Regions from separate parts of the Homo sapiens genome. Here regions 2, 3, 4, 5 and 6 are each linked to region 1. The links are contacts of gene promoters, found by promoter capture Hi-C in blood cells and fetal thymus (Javierre and others, 2016). All regions are on one chromosome and are shown on one strand. The core of a region is centred on a gene start or on the middle of the fragment in contact, and the rest is flanking DNA. Distances in the headings are between cores, read along the strand shown. Region 1 holds the start of CLEC14A (C-type lectin domain containing 14A). Region 2 has its middle 310 kb from the start of CLEC14A. Region 3 has its middle 60 kb from the start of LINC00517. Region 4 has its middle 280 kb from the start of CLEC14A. Region 5 has its middle 76 kb from the start of LINC00517. Region 6 has its middle 95 kb from the start of LINC00517.

Region 1 (3,478 bases), core at 339-2,838:
AAAAGTGAAAAACTGTTCACAGGAGTGCCCATGTCCCCTGTTTCCCTATGCATCACTAGAGCCAAGAGGGGACTCCGCCAGCAAGGCACCCTCTGCTCTGTCCCGCAGATCACAGTCCCCGACTTTCACCCCATTGTTTGTGCAATGTGCAGAACTGGAGCCCAAAGCAGCGGGCTCAGGATCACTCTCCAGGCCCGGCGGGCCCATAGACTCCTTCCTTGGCTGGGAAGAGGGGCTTTCGTGAAAGCAGAGCTTGACAAGCCCCAGTACTGTCATGGTCAAGATCACCAACACTACTACTGCTGTGCTCACAAATATGAAGACCACGGCAGAGGAGGAGTCGAAAGCCTGAGGAGTGGCAGAGGAAGTCGTAGAATTAAACTTGGAAATCACGCTCCCTGATGGGGTGATAGTGGCCTTTGACTCGGCTTGAAGGGACATTTGAAGGGTAGACATCGTGCTCTGTGATCCCCATCGAGGAATCTCAGGAATAGATGTTACTGAATTGTCTTGTTCAGGGACAAGTGGTGTCTCTCCCAGCTTCTCGTCGACCCTGATTGGCCATGTTCTCTGCGGCACGGGGCTGGTTGCAGTGGCCGGCGGGCGCCTGGTGGGCACCCCGGTCCCCCCAAGGGTCGGCTGTCCTTCCCCACTGGTCACACAAGAGCGGCCGTCCTTCCCCAGCTCGAAGCCCGTAGCACATTCGCAGGCAAAGCCTCCCAAGTCGTCTAGGCAGTTAGGGAGCTCTGCGCATTTGCCAGCACGGAGGTACCTCCCGGGGCAGGGACACAACACATCGCCCGAGAGTTTGTCCCAGCGAGCGCCGATTTCGTCCGCGATGCAAGTAACTGAGATCGGGAGCTGTCCCCGGCAGAGCGCACTCACCTCGGTCCCAGGTGGACTGAAGTCCAGAGCGGCGCTGTGCAGCTGGAAGGGCGCGCGATAGCTCAAGTTAGAGGCGGCCCCGGGGCGCGGCGCAGGACACAAGACCTCAAACTGGTACTTGCACAGGTAGCCGTTGGCGCGCAGGTGGCATCGCATCTCCTTCCAGCCTGCGGGCTCGACCCCACCGGTGGCCTGGAGTACCGCGCATCTCCGCGCGGTGCAGGAGCGTTGGGGCTCCTCCACCCACTGCAGCGTGTCGCTTTCGAGACCGCCGGGGTCGGAGGACAGCCAGGAGAAACCCCGCAAAGGCTCGTTCTCCAGGGTGCAGTGGGAACGCCTGCGCTCCAGTGCGACCCAGAACAGCAGGTCTTTGGAGCCCCCTCCGGGCCCTGGGCCTGCCCGCAGGAGCGCGAGCACAGCGCGCAGCTCGGCGCCCGCACGCACGGTGCTGAGCGCCCCACCTCGCAGGATGCAGGCCTCCTCGGCCGCCTGCCGCTTCATGGTAGCGTGGTGCAGGCTGTAGCAGGCCCCCGAGGCCGAGCAGCCAGCACGGTCGGCAGTGGGGTGTTCGCCGCCGCCCGGCCCGGGCCAGAGCGCCTGCCAGAGGAGGCACAGGGCGAACGCCGGCCTCATTCTCTGAGGCCCCGCACGCAGAGCTGCTCCCAACTTGGATCTGTCCCGCTCGAGGACGCAGAGCTGTGTCTGGAGCGCGGTCACCGCCCTCTACAGCTGGCTTCCCCAACCCGGTTCCCCCTCCCTTCCCCTCCGCCCTCGCTCCCGACGGACCCCCCAACTGCCAAGAATCCCCCCGCGGGCCCAGCGGCCAACAGTTTCCCTTAGGCCGCGACAGGAAATGTGTGCGGAGCGCTGCCAGGCCCGGTGCAGCCCTGAGTTATTCTGGGGTCAGGAACACAGCTGGCGCCGGGTACAGGGGACGCAGTCGACTAGAAGGTCAAACACCCTGCTTAGAGCAAGAGGAGAAATTCGCCACTGGGATGAAGTGTGTGGTTTTTCTCCGTTCAGGGAGTTTCATCAGGACCGCAGAACCCATAACACGTAAGCGAACATAGGCAGGAAGGACTTGAGAAAGGAACTGGCTTATGATTATAAGACCACGCCCGTCTATTGTGTTTCTGTCCGGAGCTGTGGAGTTAGCGTCAGAATAATTCGTAGACGGCTCCAGTGTTTGGGGGGCCTGTGCCTGTGGGGGAAAAATATGTTGTGAAACAACTTAGCAACTGCTTTTGCCACCAGAGGCAGCACTATTTAACCGCATATCTCTCTATGGGTCTTTGCTTCTCTATTATGTCAAGAGATTTCAGGAGTCCTAACTACTAAAGAATTTGGAGTTGTTTGGGTATTTTAAATGGGAAATTCTGCTTCTTCCATCAGCACTTGCTTTAGAAATTTATTTTTCACTTCCACGTGTTTCTCTTTGAGTTAGACCATATTGATTCATTACAGAAAGGAAATGTATTTCTAGGACTAAATGAAAAATAATGACCATAGATCTTAACAGTTAGGTTGTTAGCTTTCCTTGCCACTGTATTGGTTCAAAAATTCTTCAAGTTTATAGGTTATACATAAATGAGTTCGTGGCCTTATAAATATTCGAGAACAACTGCCCTATGTGTGATTTTAGCCTTGAACTATTTTAGTATCATTTTCTCCTATGATTGAGTGGCAGCATTTATAATAGTAAGTTGTAAACATCTCCTTTAAGGAAAATTAGAGTTCCTTAAGAAATTAAAATGTTTATTCCATTATAATGAATATTGTATACTGTCAAAAAATATCTTGTAATTTGAAAGATGGGTGAGCCAATTTCTTTAGAATTCCAGTGGGTGTTTTGTTTTAATATAAACATTTCAACTCAGTGGGAAGTGGCAAGGAATTAAAGATGAATAAAGAAGTAAAGGTTAAAAACTGTACTGTTATGAAAGGATTTCTTGTTAGCAACTTAGACAATTCAGTATCAGTTTAGAAAACGTACATTCTATCTTGGTTCATAATGGCCAAATACGTTGCCATCAGAAATACATAGAGAGTTTCAGCTAAGCCCTCTTAGAGATGTCTGATGCTTTTAAATATCTTTAATCAGAATGAAAGTTGCCATTCCATGGATAATGCATATAAGCTCACTTTGTTTTACTGCATTCAGGTTGATGAGGGGTGGGAGGGAAGGTTTCAGGATCACATCTGTATGCTTCCATCTTATTTTTACCATAACTCTCATTCTTCTTTCCTCCTGGAAATTCCATGTATCTTAACAAACAACAGTAAGCCTATGAGTCATCATCATACTTACCTTGCTTTTGCTGAGTATGGAGCTTTGCACTAGGATTTCTCTCCTGCCCTATTTCCCAATTTAAAGAACATTCCTTAGTCCTTCCTTCAGATGTCTGAGAATCACCTTAAACGTGGCTTTGCGTTTAAATTAGGTAACTTAGTGTCTTATAAGAAAGAAACATGAAAATCCAGAAATCAAATTGAATGGTTTTTAAAAAATACTTAGTCACTTGGGCCAGCTCTCTATAGACCATTGCAATCTTATGACTGTGTTTGTAAATGTGTCCATGTAGTGCAATATTTT
Region 2 (3,478 bases), core at 696-3,195, 310 kb after region 1:
CAATCAGGCAAGAGAAAGAAACTTAAGACATCTAAATAGGAAAAGAGGAAAAATTATCTTTGTTTGCTGATGACATGGTCACACACTTAAAAAACCCTAAAGATTCCTTCAAAGGAATTCTAGACCTGATAAATGACTTTAGTAAAGTTTCAAGATACAAAATTAATGCACAAAAATTAGTTGCATTTCTCAACAATGCTCAAACTGAGAACCAAATCAAGAATTCAATCCCATTTACAATTGCCACACACATAAAATATCTAGCAGTAAATTTAACCAAGGCAGTGGAAGACCTCTAAAAGGAGCACTATAAAACACCAATGAAAGAAATTATAGATGATACAAACAAATGAAAAAATATCCCATTCTCCTGGATTGGAAGAATTAATATCATTAAAATAACTACACTGCCCAAAGCAAGCTACATATTCAACGTAATTCTTATCAAATTACCAATATCATTTTTCAAAGAATTAGAAAAAACAATTCTAAAATTCATATGGAACCAAAAAAAAAAAAGCCTGAATAGCCAAAGAAATCTAAAACAAAAAAGAAAAAAGCTTGAAGCATCACAGTATCCAACTTCAAACTACACCACACAGTTATAGTAGCCAAAGCAGCATTATACTTGTACAGAAATTGACCCATAAACCAATGGAACAGAGTAGAGGATCCAGAAATACAGCCAGACATCTACAACCAACTGGTCTTCAACAAAGTCAACAAAAATAAACAGGAGGAAAGGATATCCTATTCAATAAATGGTGCTAAGAAAACTAGCTAGCCATATGCAGAAGAATGGAATTGGACACCTACCTCTCACCATATATAAAAATTAACTCAAGATCAACTAAAGACTCAATCCATGTATGACCTCAAACTATAAAAATCCTAGAAGAAAACCTAGGAAAATCTCTTCTGGACGTTGGCCTAGGCAAAGAATTTATGACTAAGACCTCAAAAGCAAATGCAACAAAAACAAAAATAGACAAATGGGACTTCATTAAACTAAAGAGTTTCTACACAGCAAAAGAAATGATCAATGAAGTAAACAGACAACCTATGGAATGGGAGAAAATATTTGCAACCTATGCATCTGGCAAAGGACTAATATCCAGAATCTATAAACACTTAAATAAATCAACAAGATAAAAACAAATAATCCCATTAAAAAGTGAGCAAAGGACATGAACAGACACTTTTCAAAGGAAGGCATACAAGCAGCCAAGAAACATTTTTAAAAATGCTAAATATCACTATCAACAGAGAGATGCAAATTAAAACTGTAATGAGATACCATCTTCCACCAGTCAGAATGGCTTCCTGCTTTCTGAATCCTCCCTGTTACACTGCACAGATGTAGCCAAAGGTGCCAGTTTCTCTCAAATTTGGACTAAAACACTCATCATAGTTACAAATCTTTCCTCCAATCTGGTGCTGGGAATGATATGCACCATCAATCTCCTCTTCTCTCTAGGGCTTGCCAAAGATCAAAAAAAAAAAAACTTATAACTGTAAATTACTCTCAGTGTTGACACATTCTGAAACTGTCTGTGTGCATCAGGAAAGAAGGAAAGCTCAGTTGCTTCTAAGAAAAAAAAATGCATGTTTTTCATGCTCAGGGCCTTCCTCCTGAAAATCAAATTGGAAAACACCATTTCGAAAGGCACATTCAAAGACGGGAACAATCTGTGAAAGGAAAAATAGCTACTAGAAGCAAGTAAAAATTCTATGCTTTGGATCTTTGAAAACAAGATAAAAGCACTTTTCAAAGCAACAAAATCTGAGGAACTCAGAAAAAATTGAAGTCAGTTATGATTCTGATTTGTCAACACTCTTCTTATAAGAGGAAGCTGGAGTTAATTTTTTAAATATTGCCTTTGCCCATTATATAGGAAGAAGGGTTTGAGTTTTTTCTTCCGTAATGTGCCTATAGAAGCTATATTGCAAGCAAGATCCCATTGTCTATAGAATAAAGGCCAAAATCCTTGGTACAGTTTACAAAGCTCTTCATGATCTGGCCATTGCCCAGCTTTCTGGCCATATCTACCCCCATAACCCCATATGCATCTTTTGCTCCAGCTGTACTGCATATTAGCAATTTTTCAGATTTTCCATATTCAGGTCTCTGCACATATGTTTCTTGCTATTTTTGGAATGCTCACCTCTCCCACTCCACTGTCTAGCTAACATCATTTTTCCTCCAAAACTCACTGTAAGTGTCATCTACTAGAAATTTTCCCTGAATCCTATAGGATGAAGCAAGTCTACCTCTCTTCTTAATGTTTTCTGTACTGTCTATGTTAATGCATACACTCAGTAAACTTAAAGCCAGAAAGTCACCTAATGGCACAGTGATTTTAATCTATTATCCCTGAATGTACTGAATAGACTGAATCTACAGAAGGATTTTTTAAAACTACCTACAGCAGGTGTTTGGCAAATATGAATATCCAAGAATAGTTTTATAAAGAACATATAATACCAAGAACGTTAAAAATTAATTATTATATATTTTAAATTATACTGAGGTTTATATTCTTCCATATGTCTTTGAATCAATTCATTTTATTTATTTATAATCATTGATTTATAAGTACACAGCAACTTCATACCCTTGAAAATATTATTTTCTAGTTTAAACTCTTATAGCTTACAGAAAATATAACCCAACATTTAAATGCATCTAGTAGTGAATCAAATTTATTAAAGCAATCATAATCTTATGTATGCTTGTACACTGTACTTTGTTAAATAAGGCATCTCTTGAACAATCAATTACATGTGGATCATCACAAAAAGCTGCTGGAATGGTGGGAGTTCATTAAAATGAACAAAATTCCTGTCTGAAATGTGTTTTAAGCAGGGGTTTAGAAGATAGAGGGAATATGCTTTTCTTACGGACAGGAGTGATAAATACTGCAAAATAGTGTATCAGTATGATTATTTGCAAGTAAATATTGGTGAATTGTATATGGCAGTGAATTCTGCTTTGCTGAAGAAATATAAATAATTTTGTTAATTTCTACTATATCATTTCTACTACACAGTAGAAATTATAAACTAGTAGATAGTAGTAGAGGAATACAAATTTAGGGTTGGAGGGAATAGTATGTGAGCTTGGAGTGGAAGGTGGGGATGAGACAGAGATCCTAGGTGACAATCGAAGAAGTTTTGGGGATAAGAGTAAAGCTCTATTTGATCGAATTAAGCAATTGGAAGTCACCTCAGCTTCTAAGAAAAAAAATGATACTATCAAAAGAAAGATTATTATAACTATGAGAAGCATGAAGGATAAGGAGGTAGGTAGGCAAGAGATTGTTTAGGAACAAAGCTTTGGAGGAGGAGGGAAGAAGAAAGAGAAGATCTGTGAAATATTTCCATAAGAAATATTCCATGGAATAATCAAGGATTATTCCATGGTTGCATTCAGGAGGCTCAGAATTCTAGTGACCAGCAACAATAAAAATGGTTAAAG
Region 3 (3,478 bases), core at 725-3,224, 290 kb before region 1:
TGATCCAGGGTCTTGCCTAGGATCACATGGGTTGTTAACAGCAGAGGCAGAACACAGACTTCCTGATTCACAGGTCTGTGCCTTTACCACTGGCTTAGACCTCGTTCCAGACCCAAATTCTGTCTCTAGGTCTATCTTCTGGCCTGAAAACCGCATGTAGGTCTAATGGATACTTTTTCTGAAGGCAGCTAATAATTTGTTTACCAGAGTTGTTAGAGAAAAATATGGTTAGTGAAGTGTTTCCCTGACTGAAATGAATATGTTAAATATGTGCCCCTTTATTACACACACAATTTTAAGGGCAAAAAAAAAAAAAAAAAAAAACCTCAAAAGAAGCCCTTTATCTTATTATCTTATTTAAGATATAAAACAATACTTTTCTGTGATTCCCAAATGAATATATATATATACATTTGTATGTGTGTGTATATATATATATACACACACACACACATATATATGGAAAAGATAGTTTTCTGGAGAGAACTTTTTTTCAATGATGTAGGACACTACTATTGTCCATACAGAATTTTAAAATGCAGAAGTTAGGACTTGAAATGCTGACAGACTCACAACCTCAGAGGCCAAATGGCACCACAATGAATTCTCATATTTTTTACTTTCAAAAAACCCTAGAGACCGCTTTTATTGCATATTTTATGGAGCCATCTGTCTTTTTACTAGAGCTAGTATAGGTTCAAAACTTTAAATACAATTTTTCTTTTTGTCAAAGGGCCACAACTGCATGCAGTGCCATGGCCAGTAGTAAATTTCCAGGGTTTACAATGGAAGGAAGAGTCAGCACAGTATTAAAGCCTGATGCACCTGCTGTTATGGCAACTGCACTCTAGGAGGCATTTCTCATTAGATGTGTTTTTCTACCTTGGCCAAGATTAGTCAATGTCATAAATCATCTTAATTGATAATATTCTTTTTAGAGATCTTTTGGATTTGCTGACATGAGGTCATTTAAAATTCTTTATATTTCAAATAAGACCCCATAAAGTGAAAGGCTTCCTTCAAATCCATATTTTGCTGCCTGGGAATAAGGGGGTGGGGGTGCAAAATATGAAGAATATGTGCTTGCTTGGGGTAAAGCACTATGGTAACTATGTGAAAGAAATGGTTTAAGCTTCAGTGGAGCCTAAATATAATTTAGACATACACAATGCAAGTCCAAGGATATTTGTACATAAAGTATACAGGGCTTGATATAGGGAAAGCATTTTATGCAGTCAGTCATTATCCACTAGGCTGCTACTCCTACTGATACTATGCTTAAAATCAGATTTGAAAAAAATCATAAGTCATAATTCATGTCCATCATAATGGAAATGCTGCTGAGGTCATTTTCACATTTATTATGAAAGATGCCTCAACTTCCAAAAGGCTATAGATCATATTAGTGAGAATGCAAGAGTAGAGGAACTCATAATTTTAATTAAAGCTGCCAGCAGCGTTTTCCAAAATTTTTTGGAGCATGCTAACGGTGTCTTCTGGGAGGATTGTTAATATTCAGAGTTAGGAGGGAGTATACTTGTTTCTCAGAGGTTGATCTAGAAAATTAGGTTTGGAATAGAGAATAATCTGGGCACTGTTTTGTTTTTAGCAAGAGTAATGGTGGAGGTGGTAGGGCAGTTGAGAAAGCACTGTGGAGTGAATGGCAAATTTCTCTCAGAAGTTTAGGTCAGTGGGTCTCAAATTTGGGTGCATAAGAATCAGTTGGTGTACCGGTTAAAAATGTAGATTTCTAGATCCTAGTCCCCAGTGATTTTTATTGAGAATATAGAGGGTGGGACCCAGGAAAACTGCAGTGTCAAGAAGCCCCCTTCTGATTCTGATCAGCTACCCTATGGTCCACACTGTAAAATATTGGGGACCCTGTCATGACTTAAATTTGTATGCTAATTGTATTAGTCCATTTTCACACTGCTATGAAGAACTACCTGAGGCTGGGTAATTTGTAAAGAAAAGAGGTTCAATTGACTCACAGTTCCACAGGTTGTACTGAAGGCATGGCCTGGGGGGCCTCAGGAAACTTATAGCAATGGTGGAAGGGAAAAGGGGAAGCAGGCACATAATCACATGGCAGCAGGAGAGAGAGAGAACAAAGCAGGAAGCGCTACACAGCTTAAACAACCAGATCTCATGAGAACTCACTCACTATCATGAGACAGCAAGGGGGAAATCTGCCCCCATGATCTAATCACCTCTAACCAGGTACCTCCCCCAACACTGGGAATTACAATTCGACATGAGATTTGGGGACATAGAACCAAACCATGTCACTAATATTTCTAGATTTCATTCTGAACAGTAATAACTTACTAAATACACTATTTCTTCTTAAAAACCTGAGGGTAGTAGCAGTAGTATTTTTTTCAAATCACAATAGATGAACATACTTGATTTAAAAGCAAAACATTATGCTTTTAATCAATAATAGGCTGACAGAAACTTGAATGAAGTTTCTACATGGAAGTCACATAATATATTGACAGCAAAACTACTAGACTGATGATACATTGTCTGTCCTATTGCCGGTCCTATCCCAGACTTCAGATATGACAAGTACCTTCCCTTGCACACTTACACAGACATCATTCATTGATAATACCATACTTTCCAGCTACATCAGATGCAACCTCAGAATTCTTCTCAGCAAAAACAGTCATTACCAAGTTATCAAAGCTGGTGTGGGTGTGCAATTGTATTTGACATAACTGTCCCATCCCAAACAAAAAGCACTCTTCTTTCCTTCTTTATTTTATTCTCTCCTTCCTTTCCTCTCTCCTTACCTCTCCTCCCCACCCTCCAAAGCTTTCGGAAACAAGTGGTCCATATAACTCATATTGAAGCAAAATGGAAGACCCTATTTTGTCCTAAATTAAATCAAACCAAGAGCAGGGCTTCCGGGATCTTAAAAGAAAGCATGAAACTCCACCTATTTTCTTAGAAAATTCTCCTGGTAATGGTACATTTGTTTCTAAACAGGCAACAGATGGTCGATATCTATCCATTTTTAAGAAGATAGTGATTTCAAACCACATCTTCAAGTTCATCAAAGTACCGAGGAATCAAGAATCCTACATTTCTTTTTGAGGTTTCAATTTTGAATAAGCCGACAAAATAAACACTCTAAATTATTTTAGGAAAACATCATGTGTCTCAATTTAATCATTTTTTATGCTTAGCCAAATTGTATTTTGTGTACTTTTCTCTAAAATCTATACTTTGTTAAGTTGTGATGGTTAGATCATGTTTTAAAGTAGAAAATAACATAATCTCATTTTAGGAAATGTAGGATACTCAGAAAAATATGTAAAAGAAAATGAGCACCACCTATAAAATCACTACCCAAAGATAACTACTATTAAGACTTTGGTACATTTTTATTCATTCTATTATCCATGTATCTTCATGTGAATGTGTCTTTTTCTTTGATTTTCCCACAATATCTAGGTCATTTGGGGCATAC
Region 4 (3,478 bases), core at 536-3,035, 280 kb after region 1:
TGAAAGTGTCTGTGGCAATGGAGCCTGACTAAGACCAACATTTTATCCAGTTACAAAGCAGTTTATCAGCTGCCGGCATGGAGAAACTTCCTCAGCTAGTTAAGCCTTGCCTTATAATCATAATTTCTCATTCCTAGTCCCAGAATACTTTCCACTTAGCAGATCTTGCTTCCTGGCTTTATTGCTGAATCAGCCAATAATAACTAATTTTATGTCTCCTTTGAATCCTGCCAATCTGGCTTATTTGGGGAGAGAGAAAGTAGGAGAGTCAATCAAAGTAGTCACATTTCACAGTCTCTCTGACAGCTTTTCAGAAGGAACTCATCTAAATTGCATTCCATTCACTCAGTCTGATGGATGTTTACTCAGAGGGTGCAGCAGCCAGTGGAGGGGCTCTGTTAAGCACTTGCGAAGGGCCTCCAACACCACACAGATAATCCCGGCCTTAGCTGTGTCTCCACTTGGATGTCTCAGGCCTCAGTGTTTTGGATTCCAAGAACTAATAAAATTGTCAAAGAATGTTGGTAGCCAATCCATATTTACCAGATTTTAGCAAATCTAGTTAGCAAACTGTCATCATTTCAGGAAAAGATCATTTTTAAACAACAACAACAACAAAACAGGAAGTTATTAACTAAGAATTTTTTTTAAATCTTAGCATAAAAGGAGCATTATGAAAAATTCATTGCATTGTCCTTCTTTTTCCATTTTTCTTCAAATTGGTGCAAACTTTCTTGCAGAAATGTGCCCTAGAAGGCAAAAACAATTGTTTTCCTCTTTATTTGAGGAAGATTAATAAGGAGAGAAGTGCAACAAATGAGAGTGTGTGTGACTTTCCATGCCAGTCTGTCTGTGTCCTTCTCCAGCAAATGTACCCAGGCACAATTTGAGGCCTTTTTCATGCCCTATGACCACGACTCCCCTCCGCAACTATTACCTCAGGAACCCTCCTGAACCTCCTAGAATCTCGCATTGGACACTATCTTTTTAATATGTATCATATGTATGCTATTCAAAATTAAAAGTAAATTTTGAAGAAAAAAAACTCTACTTATGAGCCAATGTAACAGAAGAAAAAAAAACTTATATTTTTTCTATTTCAACAAATGTACACTCTATAATAAAATACCAGTATTCTCTCACAACATAAAGTTTTTTCTAAGGAAGCTTTTATTTTTCTAGTGCTGATGCTCATCACAGACAATGCTGTCACAAAACCACCTGATGTGTGTCCTGTACTATGCACTACGGGATTGGGGAAGTTAATTAATCAGAGTTCTCTAGAGGGACAGAACTATAGGTTGATGCAAAAGTAATTGCTGTTTTTGCCATTAAAAGCAATGGCAAAATAAAAGGATAGACATACATATGAAGGGTAGTTTATTAAGGAGTATTGACTCACACGATCACAAGGTGAAGTCCCACAATAGGCCGTCTGCAAGCTGAGGAGCAAGGAAGCCAGTCCGAGTCCCAAAACCTCAAAAGTAGGGGAGCCAACAGTGCAGCCTTCAGTCTGTGGCCGAAGGCCCAAGAGCCCCTGACAAAGCACTGGTGTAAGCCCAAGAGTCCCAAAGCTGAAGAACTTGGAGTCCGATGTTCAAAGGCAGGAAGCATCCAGCAGGGGAGGAAGATGAGGAATGGAAGACTCAGCAAGTCAAGTCCTTCCACGTTCTTCTGCCTGCTTTTATCCTAGCTGCACTGGCAACTGATTAGACTGTGCCCACCCAGATTGAGGGTGAGTCTGCCTCTCCCAGTCCACTGACTCAAATGTTAATCTCCTTTGGCACCACCCTCACAGACACACCCAGGAACAATGCTTTGCATCCTTCAATCCAATCGAGTTGACAATCAATATTAACCATCACAGGAAGTAAACAAGGAGACCAAGCTCTCCGTGTTAGTCCCATGGACAAGTTACTACACCTCTCTGAGACTCTCTTGTGGTGTGGAGATATGAATATTTTTCAACTCAGAGCATTATTGCAAAGACCAGCTTTGGCATGTAGAAATACCTTGTAAACTATAAAATTATCTACATGTATGAGATATCATAGTTATTGATTTTTAATAGAAAGTGATAAAAAAGTAATCGTTTTCAAAAATAAATTCCAGAGTAATAATGACAATGATGATAATGATGATGATGGCAGCACAATGTAAAAATAAGAAAAACATTTCTTTAGGGCTTTCTTTGTGCCAAGGCATTTGCACTAAGCACTTCATGTCATTTTTCATGTAATCCCCACAACAATGCCATGAAGCAGACTCTACTATTATCACAGTTTAATAAATGAGAAAATTGAATTTTAGATAAATTGATAGACTTGCCTACTTCACACAACAAGCATAAGTCAGAGCTGCGATTCAAGCCCTGGTTCTGTCTGATTCATAAACCTTGCAAGCAAAGCTTAGCAAAAAAAAAATCAGAAAGCCACCAAAAAGACCTTTCTTGTTTGTTAAAGCTAAGCTTAGAGCAAAGAGAAAAAAATAAGTAGAGCTTGGCCTAAATCTTAAAAAGATGTAAAACTTAACTGATGACAGAAATGAAATAGAGATATTAAACTATTTTGCTTCCCTTTACAGCATCACAAAGAATAATTGTCAAACTGGAAAGAATAAATACAGTTAAAGGAAAACCAAAAACTGAGGTAGAATTTTGATATTAGAAGGAGCCTCAAAAAATCATACAGTTTTATGTTTTTCATAACAGATAAGGAACCAATATTTTAGGTGCCTTGCTCAAAGTCATAAGTAAGTCCTTGACAATATTTGGACAGAACTCTGGCATCCTGACTCCTGGCTTAATGCTCTTTCCACCTATTATGTTTGAGAGATAATAATGAAGCTCAAGTCCCTGGGTTCCAATGAGTCAAATTACACAGGATATGGAATATCTGATGGTAATTTCTCAAATCACAGAAAATGAGAAATAAAGTGGAAGATAAGAGTTATCCTTACACTGCACAGCAAATAGAATAAGTATTATTAATTTGATTAGAGGTACTGCTTACCTTGTTTGCTCACTCTGCACCAGAATTTATCTTATGCATCAAGGAAAGTTCACAATTTATTTAGCTATGTATCAATAACTGGAGAGTTCCCTTTAAATTTTAGATGCTATAAAAGTTAATGGAACATAGGTAGACTTTTACTAAAAAATAAGAATTGTATGCATCTCATCACATATACGCTAGCTATATTACCTGCCATGATGAAAAGAATCATTAATCACTTTTAAATAAAGTTTAATACAAATAATTAAAAAATAATGTTGGCATTTCAGTAATTTCCTGTAATTGTAATAATTAATGTAGGGTTGAAATATTTCTCAATTTAGTAACAAAGTTTTTTGGTTATTACATTTGTCATTCTATGTCCAGAGTACAAATGCATGAACCCATGCTACTTTGTCCTGGACCCACTACATAGGGCTGCCCCTGTAAAAGGTCATTCAGTATTACTGTCTGCCTTTTTGACT
Region 5 (3,478 bases), core at 335-2,834, 280 kb before region 1:
CAGTATAGTGAAATATAATTCAGTAGTATTTCAGTACATTCACATTGTTGTGCAACCAATCTCCAGAACTCTTTTCATCTTGCAAAACTGAAACTCTGTACCCATCAAACAACAACTTCCCATTCCCTGCTCCTCCTATCCTATCCACCATTCCTCATTCTGTTTTTTTGAATTTGTTTAATCTAGGTTCTTTGTATAAGTGAAATCATACAGTACTTGTCTTTTTGTGACTGGCTTATTTTAGTCTGCACGATGTCCTCAAGATTCATTCATGTTGTAGCATGTGTCAGAATGTCCTTCCTTTTTGAAGTGGAAACGTATTTCGTTATTTGTGTATTCCACATTTTGTTTATCCATTCATGCATTGATGGACACTTGCTTTCTTCTACCTTTTAGACACGGTGAATATAACTTCTATGGTCATGGGTGTATAAATACCTCTTTGAGATGTGGCTTTCAATTCCCAGAAGTGGAGTTGCTGGATAATATGGGAATCCTATTTTAAATTTATTGAGGAACTACTATATTGTTTTCAATAGCAGCTGCATCATGTTACATTTCTACCAACAGTGCTCAAGAGTTCCAATTTCTCCACATCTTCACCAACACTATTTTTTTCTATTATCTTTCTTTTCTCTTTTTTTAAATAATAGTAGCTATCCTAATGAGTGTGAAATGCTATCTCATTGTAGTTCTGGGATGTTTCTATTTTTGGAGTTTGATGTCTTGTAAAAGATATGAGTAATACATAGGTGATAATTAAATTAATTCTTATTAAATAAGTTTTTATTAAATGATTGTATTAAACTAATATATTAATAAATATATTAAATAAATTAATTTAAAAATTGCTCTGTGAAGTTGAAATAATAAGAGAGAAGGCAAAAGGGTAATGACATAGCTTTTAAATCTCCTTGAATTCCACTCAAAAGTGGGCAATAAAGGTAGATAACAAAACCACTACTACCACCACCAATAACAAAAAATATGGAAACCTCTACAAAAATAAGAGGAGTGAGATACCCCATGAATTCAAAAATACAAAAAGCAAACCAATAATAGCAACAAGAAGGATGCTGTCTAAACAACTGTGTTGGAGAAAGTGGGGTAGGCAGAGGGAGAGCCAACAAAGTCAAAAATAAACAGGCTCCCTTTCAATGAGGGGAGTGCAACTGGCTTTTCTGAGAACAGTATCAAAAACTGGGAGGGGGCTTTGTTGTACTAATGTCCCAGCGAGTGTGAGGGGGCTAAAGGAAGGATACATGCTTAAGAAGTTATGGGGAGTTTCGGGTCCTAGGAACTCTCAAAATTAACAGACAAAAGTGTCCTTTCTGGACATAGACCTTCGCTGAAGACCAACTGTTGGGAGTAGGATCCAGATTGAGCAGTGCATGGGTTCTAGGAGCAGAGGAAAGACAAAATCTAGGAAAAGAATAAGGAAAAGGGACAGAGGAGCAGTGAGTATGAGAACCTATTTGCTGACATTCTTAACAGCAACACAAAAGAAAGCCCTAGAGTCATGAAGGCATGAAAGTCACCCTAAGCCCCCACTGACCTAGCACATAGAAACACCTAAAAGGACAGGGGGACCCATCTCACTTAAAGATGAAGCCACAGCAGAAGACATGAGTCACATCCCACACAGATTCATTACAAGATAAAGAGAATATGGAAGCAGAGCAACATTTTTATAGCAATCAGGTAAAAACCATTAACTAGTGTTTCAAAAACCATCTCAAAGAAATATAAATATTTTTAGAAACTATGAAGAACATCATAAATTAGAAAAACTAAGTGACAAAATGATTGGATGAAAGGAAGATTTGAAAGGAGAACTGGCCACACTAAAAATATAACAAAGGGGAAAAAACCCATTTTAGAACTAGACACTACTTAGAAGGAATTGCAGATAACAGCGTGGATACTATGAGACCAATAGATAATGGAAAGCAGAAAAATAGAAAAGATTAAACATTTGAAAACAAAAATAAAATGACTTCAAAGAAAGTTACAGGTATATAAGGTAGACAAAAATATATAATATATTTGAGTCCCCACAAAGAAAAGCAATGTGACAAAATAATACTAAGAGCTATGTTTCAAGAATAGTTTCCTGAAGTAAAAAAGGTCTTGAAGCAACTCTATGTTTATAAGAAAATTGTCTCAGAACAGCTGACACTGACACATATTCTAATAAACCAAGTAGGCGAATCAGAAAAAGAAAAAAAACTTAAAGTTTTTGGCCAGGTGCGGTGTCTCACATCTCTAATCCCAGCACTTTGGGAGGCCAAGGTGGGTGGATCACAAGGTCAGGAGTTTGAGGCCAGCCTGGCCAAGATGGTGAAACCCTGTCTCTACTAAAAACACAAAAATTAGCTGGGCATGGTGGCGCAGCTGTAGTTCCAGTTACTCGGGAGGCTGAGGCAGAAGAATTGCTGGATTGGGGATATGGAGGTTGCAGTGAGCCAAGATCACACCACTGCACTTCAGCCTGGGTGACAGCGAGATTTGGTCTCAAAAAAAAAAAAAAAGAATTCGAAGAAAAAAACAAACTGAGTTTTCAGGTGAAACATTCAGGTCACTTATAAGAGGAAAAAAGTCATAGTTAAAACAACTTTTTTTTTTTTTTTAAACAGCAATGGTTTATGCTAAAATAGTAACACCTACTAAAGTAAAAAAAAAATGTAAGTTTTATATCCTGTCAAACTGACTGTCAAGCATAAAGGTGCTCTTATGAACATGCTCAAGAGGATATTGTTTCTAACATTCCTTCCTGAGAAATCTTCAAACAACAAAAGTGACTACAAAGTATTGACTATTTATCTATGAGCACTGAATATACATTTACTTGTAAAACTGAGGCTAAATGACAGATGTAAGGGAAACAGTATAGTACATGACAACTGTGTTCTGACACTGTAGATAAAAATGACTCTGAAAAATGGCAGGAGAGGAATGGGGCACATTTATAAAATATAATATAAACTCTCTGGTGGGCTTATTGGTAATAAAGTAAAATGTTACTTAAAATTTGATGTTAGGGGAGAGGAAGAGGAAGAGATACAAAAGATAACTAGCTATTTTCAGTGTTGTTCATAGTAGGGAACAAACAGAAAGCTCCTGAAAATGAGGAGACTACAATGAACATTCATGTGCATGTGTCTTTATGGTAGAGTAATTTATATTCCTCTGGGTATATACCCAATAATAGGATTGCTGGGCTGAATGGTAGTTCTGCTTTTAGCTCTTTGAGGAATTGCCACACTGCTTTCCACAATGGTTGAACTAATTTACACTCCCACCAACAGTGTATGTGTTTCCTTTTCTCCACAACCTCCCCAGTATCTATTATTTTTTGACTTTTTAATAATAGTCATTCTGACTGGCGTGAGATGGTATCTTATTGTGGTTTTGATTTGCATTTCTCTAATGATCAGTGATATGGAGCTTTTTTTCATATGCTTGTTAGCTGCATGAA
Region 6 (3,478 bases), core at 579-3,078, 260 kb before region 1:
GCTTCTGCTGCATCACCTTGATCTCTGACTTTGTAGGAAATCAAAATAGTTTACCTCAAAATATATTTCTTTGATATATTTCAAAATGGCTGCCACAGTACCAGCTGACTGAAATTGCCCTGCAATGCTGTCTTTTGTGGGGGAAATTTGCATCTGTAGAAACACTCGTTAATGCAGCCAAGGCTTCCCTTTCTAGGCCTTCCCAGGATCTAGGAAAGATTAACTGAGACGATGACACCTTTTAAGGCCTGAAAAAAATGTTTTCCAACTATTCTACCTGAGGGCTACTACCTGTGAGGCTTCATCTACATAACAAGACCACCTTCGCTGGACAAGCCTCTTCCTTTCTCCCTCCCATAACATGTCTTGCCACTAAAACCTGGTTTACCAACAGAACCTGGTTTTGGGTTTTTGGCCATGCTTTTTCTCATTCTGTCTATATTCTCAAAATAATATATAAGCTTCTGTAACTTGTTGGGGAATTGAGTCTTGATTCTGAAAGCTCCCATGTATACCGTTAAATTCATGTGCCTTTTCTCTTATTAATCAATCTGCCTCATGTCAGTGATTTTTTCAGCAAACCTTTAGGGGGCCTTGGTGCCCACAACTTAATTTCCACATGAAATTTTCCCTGTGTGTGTGTATGTGTCCAAATAGCCCTTTGTTCTAAGAAATTACAACAGTTCTATTGGATTAGGTATCCTTATAGGCCTAACCTACTCCAGAATAACTTTATTTTAACTAATTACATCTGCAATGACCCTGTTTCTAAATAAGGTCACATTCTGAGGTTACTAGGAGTTAGGATTTCAACATATGAATTTTTGGGGACACAATTCAACTTATAACGTCACACAAACACACAACTGAGTAAAATATAGTCCTTGCCCTTGAGGCCCTCACAAAGTTCCGAAACATGACCTAAGAAGCAGTTCATAGGTTTCAAGTAACAAATGGATTTTGTGCAGTTAGAGGACCTTTTAAAATTTTAAAGTAGACTTTAATTTTCAGAGTAGTTTTAGGTTCACAGCAAAATTGAGAGGAAGTTTTAGAAATTTCCATGTATCCACTCCCCCCACACATGCATAGACTCTTATGTTACCAACATCCTTCACCACAGTGGTACATTTGTTATAATGGATGAACGTATATCATTATTACTGAAAGAATATAGTCTACATTAAGGCCTGCCTAATTGAAACAGAGTTTTGAACTGATTTGGTTTTTACATTTTAGGAGAGAAAAGCAAGTGGCAGATTATGAGGTGAAAAGTATAATACATCAATGCTTATTTTGAAAATAGGCATTGTTAGGTTAAAATGAAATGTGCACATGGGACTGAATGCTCCTAAGTTCCTTTTCCTTAACAAAGGAAAAATGCATCTAATTCAAATTGATACAATTTTGGAAATAACCATGGTTACTAAAATGGATGCACTTTACACTGATTGAGAGAAAGCATTATGACAATAGCTGCTCTTTTCACAAGAGCAAATCTCTTCATGCAACTAAAAATTAAAGAGTCAGCCTATGATTTTAAGCAACAAATTTCAGCCTGAGACTATTCATTTAAGCTAAGCAACATGAGGGCTGCTGAGATTTGGTAAACACACAGACATGTACTTCAATGAGGGAACTGTGTGATGAAAGCACGACACAATGGTTTAGAGAAGCGGAATAATATGTTTTTATTTAGTACATTTATTAGATATGGATCTAGAGAATGGGATGATATCACTAATTTCAGACATAAAGACTGTTAGACATAAAGAAACCTGAAGTTCTATTAACTGAGTTGTTGTCCACCATTATTACCACAGGGTATTGATTTTGGGAATATCCACAAACTACAAATACATTTTGTGAAAGAAAACTGACGTTTATTACTCTTAATGAGTTTCCAAAAGTCTGGGGTTGTATAAAAGTGAAATTCTTGTAGTTGAAGGTGATGCTATCACAGAGCCAGGGCCTCTGGAGCTCTGTGGCTTTCTCTGGCTTCCTGAAGGCCAGGGGCACAGGTCACAGCCATCCAGACCACACTGGCTGCTTTGCTTGAGTTTATACCTCACTTGTGGTGAAAGTCATTACCTTATGTTAGCATCTGTATTAGTCTGTTCTTGCACTGCTATAAAGAAATACCTGAGACAGGGTAATTTATAAAGAAAAGGGGATTCATTGGCTCATGATTCTGGAGGGTGTACAGGAAGAATAGCGGCTTCTGCTTCTATGCTTACAAACATGGCAGAAGGCAAAGTGTAAAATTATGGCAGAAGGCAAAGGGGAAGCAGGCATATTTTTACATTGCTGGAGCAGGAGCAAGAAGAGATGCGTCAAATAGGATGCAAATACAGAGTGTTGTTTGATTTTTCGTGTCTTTATTTAATAACTTTTTCAGCAAATATGCATTGAGTGCTATCTATGCACTATCTTCTTTGAAAATCTTTCTTACTTAATTTTAGGGAACTCTCCTAACATGATAGGAGGATGTATTTTAAATACTAGTCACAATGCACATGCTAGAGAATATATATATATATATATATATATATATATGTAATTGACCACTTTGTACTTCTAAAAATAACACTTTTATAAGTTTTGGTATGCACACATACATATACACAGGACTGCAGCTATACAAAATTTTGCATTTACAGCCATGGTTTATTTTATGTTTGTTGCTTATTTCTATTATTTTCACAATTATTTGCATTATGGCTGAGTTAGCTATTGCTATGTAAAAAAGAATTACAGAATCCCAATGACATTAACAATAAACACATACTTATGCTCCAGGTCTACTGGTCTGTTTCATGTAATCTTTTAATCTCCTTGGACCAGCAGACTCCCTGATGCATGTTCTTGTCATGGCAGTGTCAAGCTGCAAGGGGGCATGCAACACATCTTAAGGCCTAGATGTGGAATGGACGCAATGTCACTTCCAACACGTCATTCCATTAGCCAAAATATCCAAGACATGGATACAAAGAGGAGGTGACGAATTGAGGCCAATAATACAATCTACACCATGGCCTAATATTAAAAAGCAATAATTTGTCTTTTTATATCACTAAAGTGTTCGAGGAAAGTGCTTTCCAATTAGGAAGGGAATCATCATCATCGTCATCACTGTTGTCATCATTATCACCATGATATCAAACACATATCATGCCTTCCATATCCCACACACTCTTCTAAAGCTTTACATTTAATTTTTGCACCACTCCTATGACATAGTCACTAGCGCTACTTCCATTTACAGCCAAGGAAATGGAGGCACAGAGGAATTAGTAAAAATGCTAATTTTTCCTAGGAACTCAAGACTATCTGGATGAATCTCAAACTGCACTATTCTAGCACAGACTCATGTGTTGAAGGATGTGGTAATATTTAACTTCTTGTCTACCTTCAAAGTCACAGAGAGAATAAAAAGCTCTACAATGGAGTAGCCATACCACACCAGTGGGTTCTGCTAGTT

Evidence for each region. The method cuts DNA at HindIII sites, captures the fragments that hold promoters and counts their contacts. A CHiCAGO score of 5 or more calls a contact.
Region 2: a fragment that was not itself captured here is called in contact with the fragment with the promoter of CLEC14A in region 1 in 1 of 17 cell types (endothelial precursors); the score reaches 6.2 in endothelial precursors.
Region 3: a fragment that was not itself captured here is called in contact with the fragment with the promoter of CLEC14A in region 1 in 2 of 17 cell types (neutrophils and naive CD4 T cells); the score reaches 12.8 in neutrophils.
Region 4: a fragment that was not itself captured here is called in contact with the fragment with the promoter of CLEC14A in region 1 in 1 of 17 cell types (endothelial precursors); the score reaches 5.2 in endothelial precursors.
Region 5: a contact is called between a fragment that was not itself captured here and the fragment with the promoter of CLEC14A in region 1, in 2 of 17 cell types (neutrophils and naive CD4 T cells). The highest score is 11.7, in neutrophils.
Region 6: a contact is called between a fragment that was not itself captured here and the fragment with the promoter of CLEC14A in region 1, in 2 of 17 cell types (neutrophils and naive CD8 T cells). The highest score is 6.0, in neutrophils.

Annotation. Positions count from the first base shown.
Region 1 is chr14:38,254,505-38,257,982 of GRCh38, forward strand. It overlaps CLEC14A (C-type lectin domain containing 14A), which reads right to left and starts at 1,589. Exons shown (of 1, transcript NM_175060.3): 1 at 1-1,589. The coding sequence starts at 1,518. The coding sequence ends at 46. It overlaps LOC112268136 (a long non-coding RNA gene), which reads left to right and starts at 1,541. Exons shown (of 5, transcript NR_169588.1): 1 at 1,541-1,941. RefSeq lists an enhancer at 771-1,398. The HindIII fragment of the contact is 4,914 bases long and covers 1-3,478 here.
Region 2 is chr14:38,566,540-38,570,017 of GRCh38, forward strand. No RefSeq gene overlaps it. Among named protein-coding and RNA genes, the nearest start is that of CLEC14A, 310 kb to the left of the region's middle. The HindIII fragment of the contact is 2,774 bases long and covers 559-3,332 here.
Region 3 is chr14:37,960,187-37,963,664 of GRCh38, forward strand. No RefSeq gene overlaps it. Among named protein-coding and RNA genes, the nearest start is that of LINC00517, 60 kb to the left of the region's middle. The HindIII fragment of the contact is 1,688 bases long and covers 1,131-2,818 here.
Region 4 is chr14:38,536,556-38,540,033 of GRCh38, forward strand. No RefSeq gene overlaps it. Among named protein-coding and RNA genes, the nearest start is that of CLEC14A, 280 kb to the left of the region's middle. RefSeq lists an enhancer at 88-589. The HindIII fragment of the contact is 1,240 bases long and covers 1,166-2,405 here.
Region 5 is chr14:37,976,879-37,980,356 of GRCh38, forward strand. No RefSeq gene overlaps it. Among named protein-coding and RNA genes, the nearest start is that of LINC00517, 76 kb to the left of the region's middle. The HindIII fragment of the contact is 8,676 bases long and covers 1-3,478 here.
Region 6 is chr14:37,994,935-37,998,412 of GRCh38, forward strand. No RefSeq gene overlaps it. Among named protein-coding and RNA genes, the nearest start is that of LINC00517, 95 kb to the left of the region's middle. RefSeq lists an enhancer at 1-457. The HindIII fragment of the contact is 2,739 bases long and covers 460-3,198 here.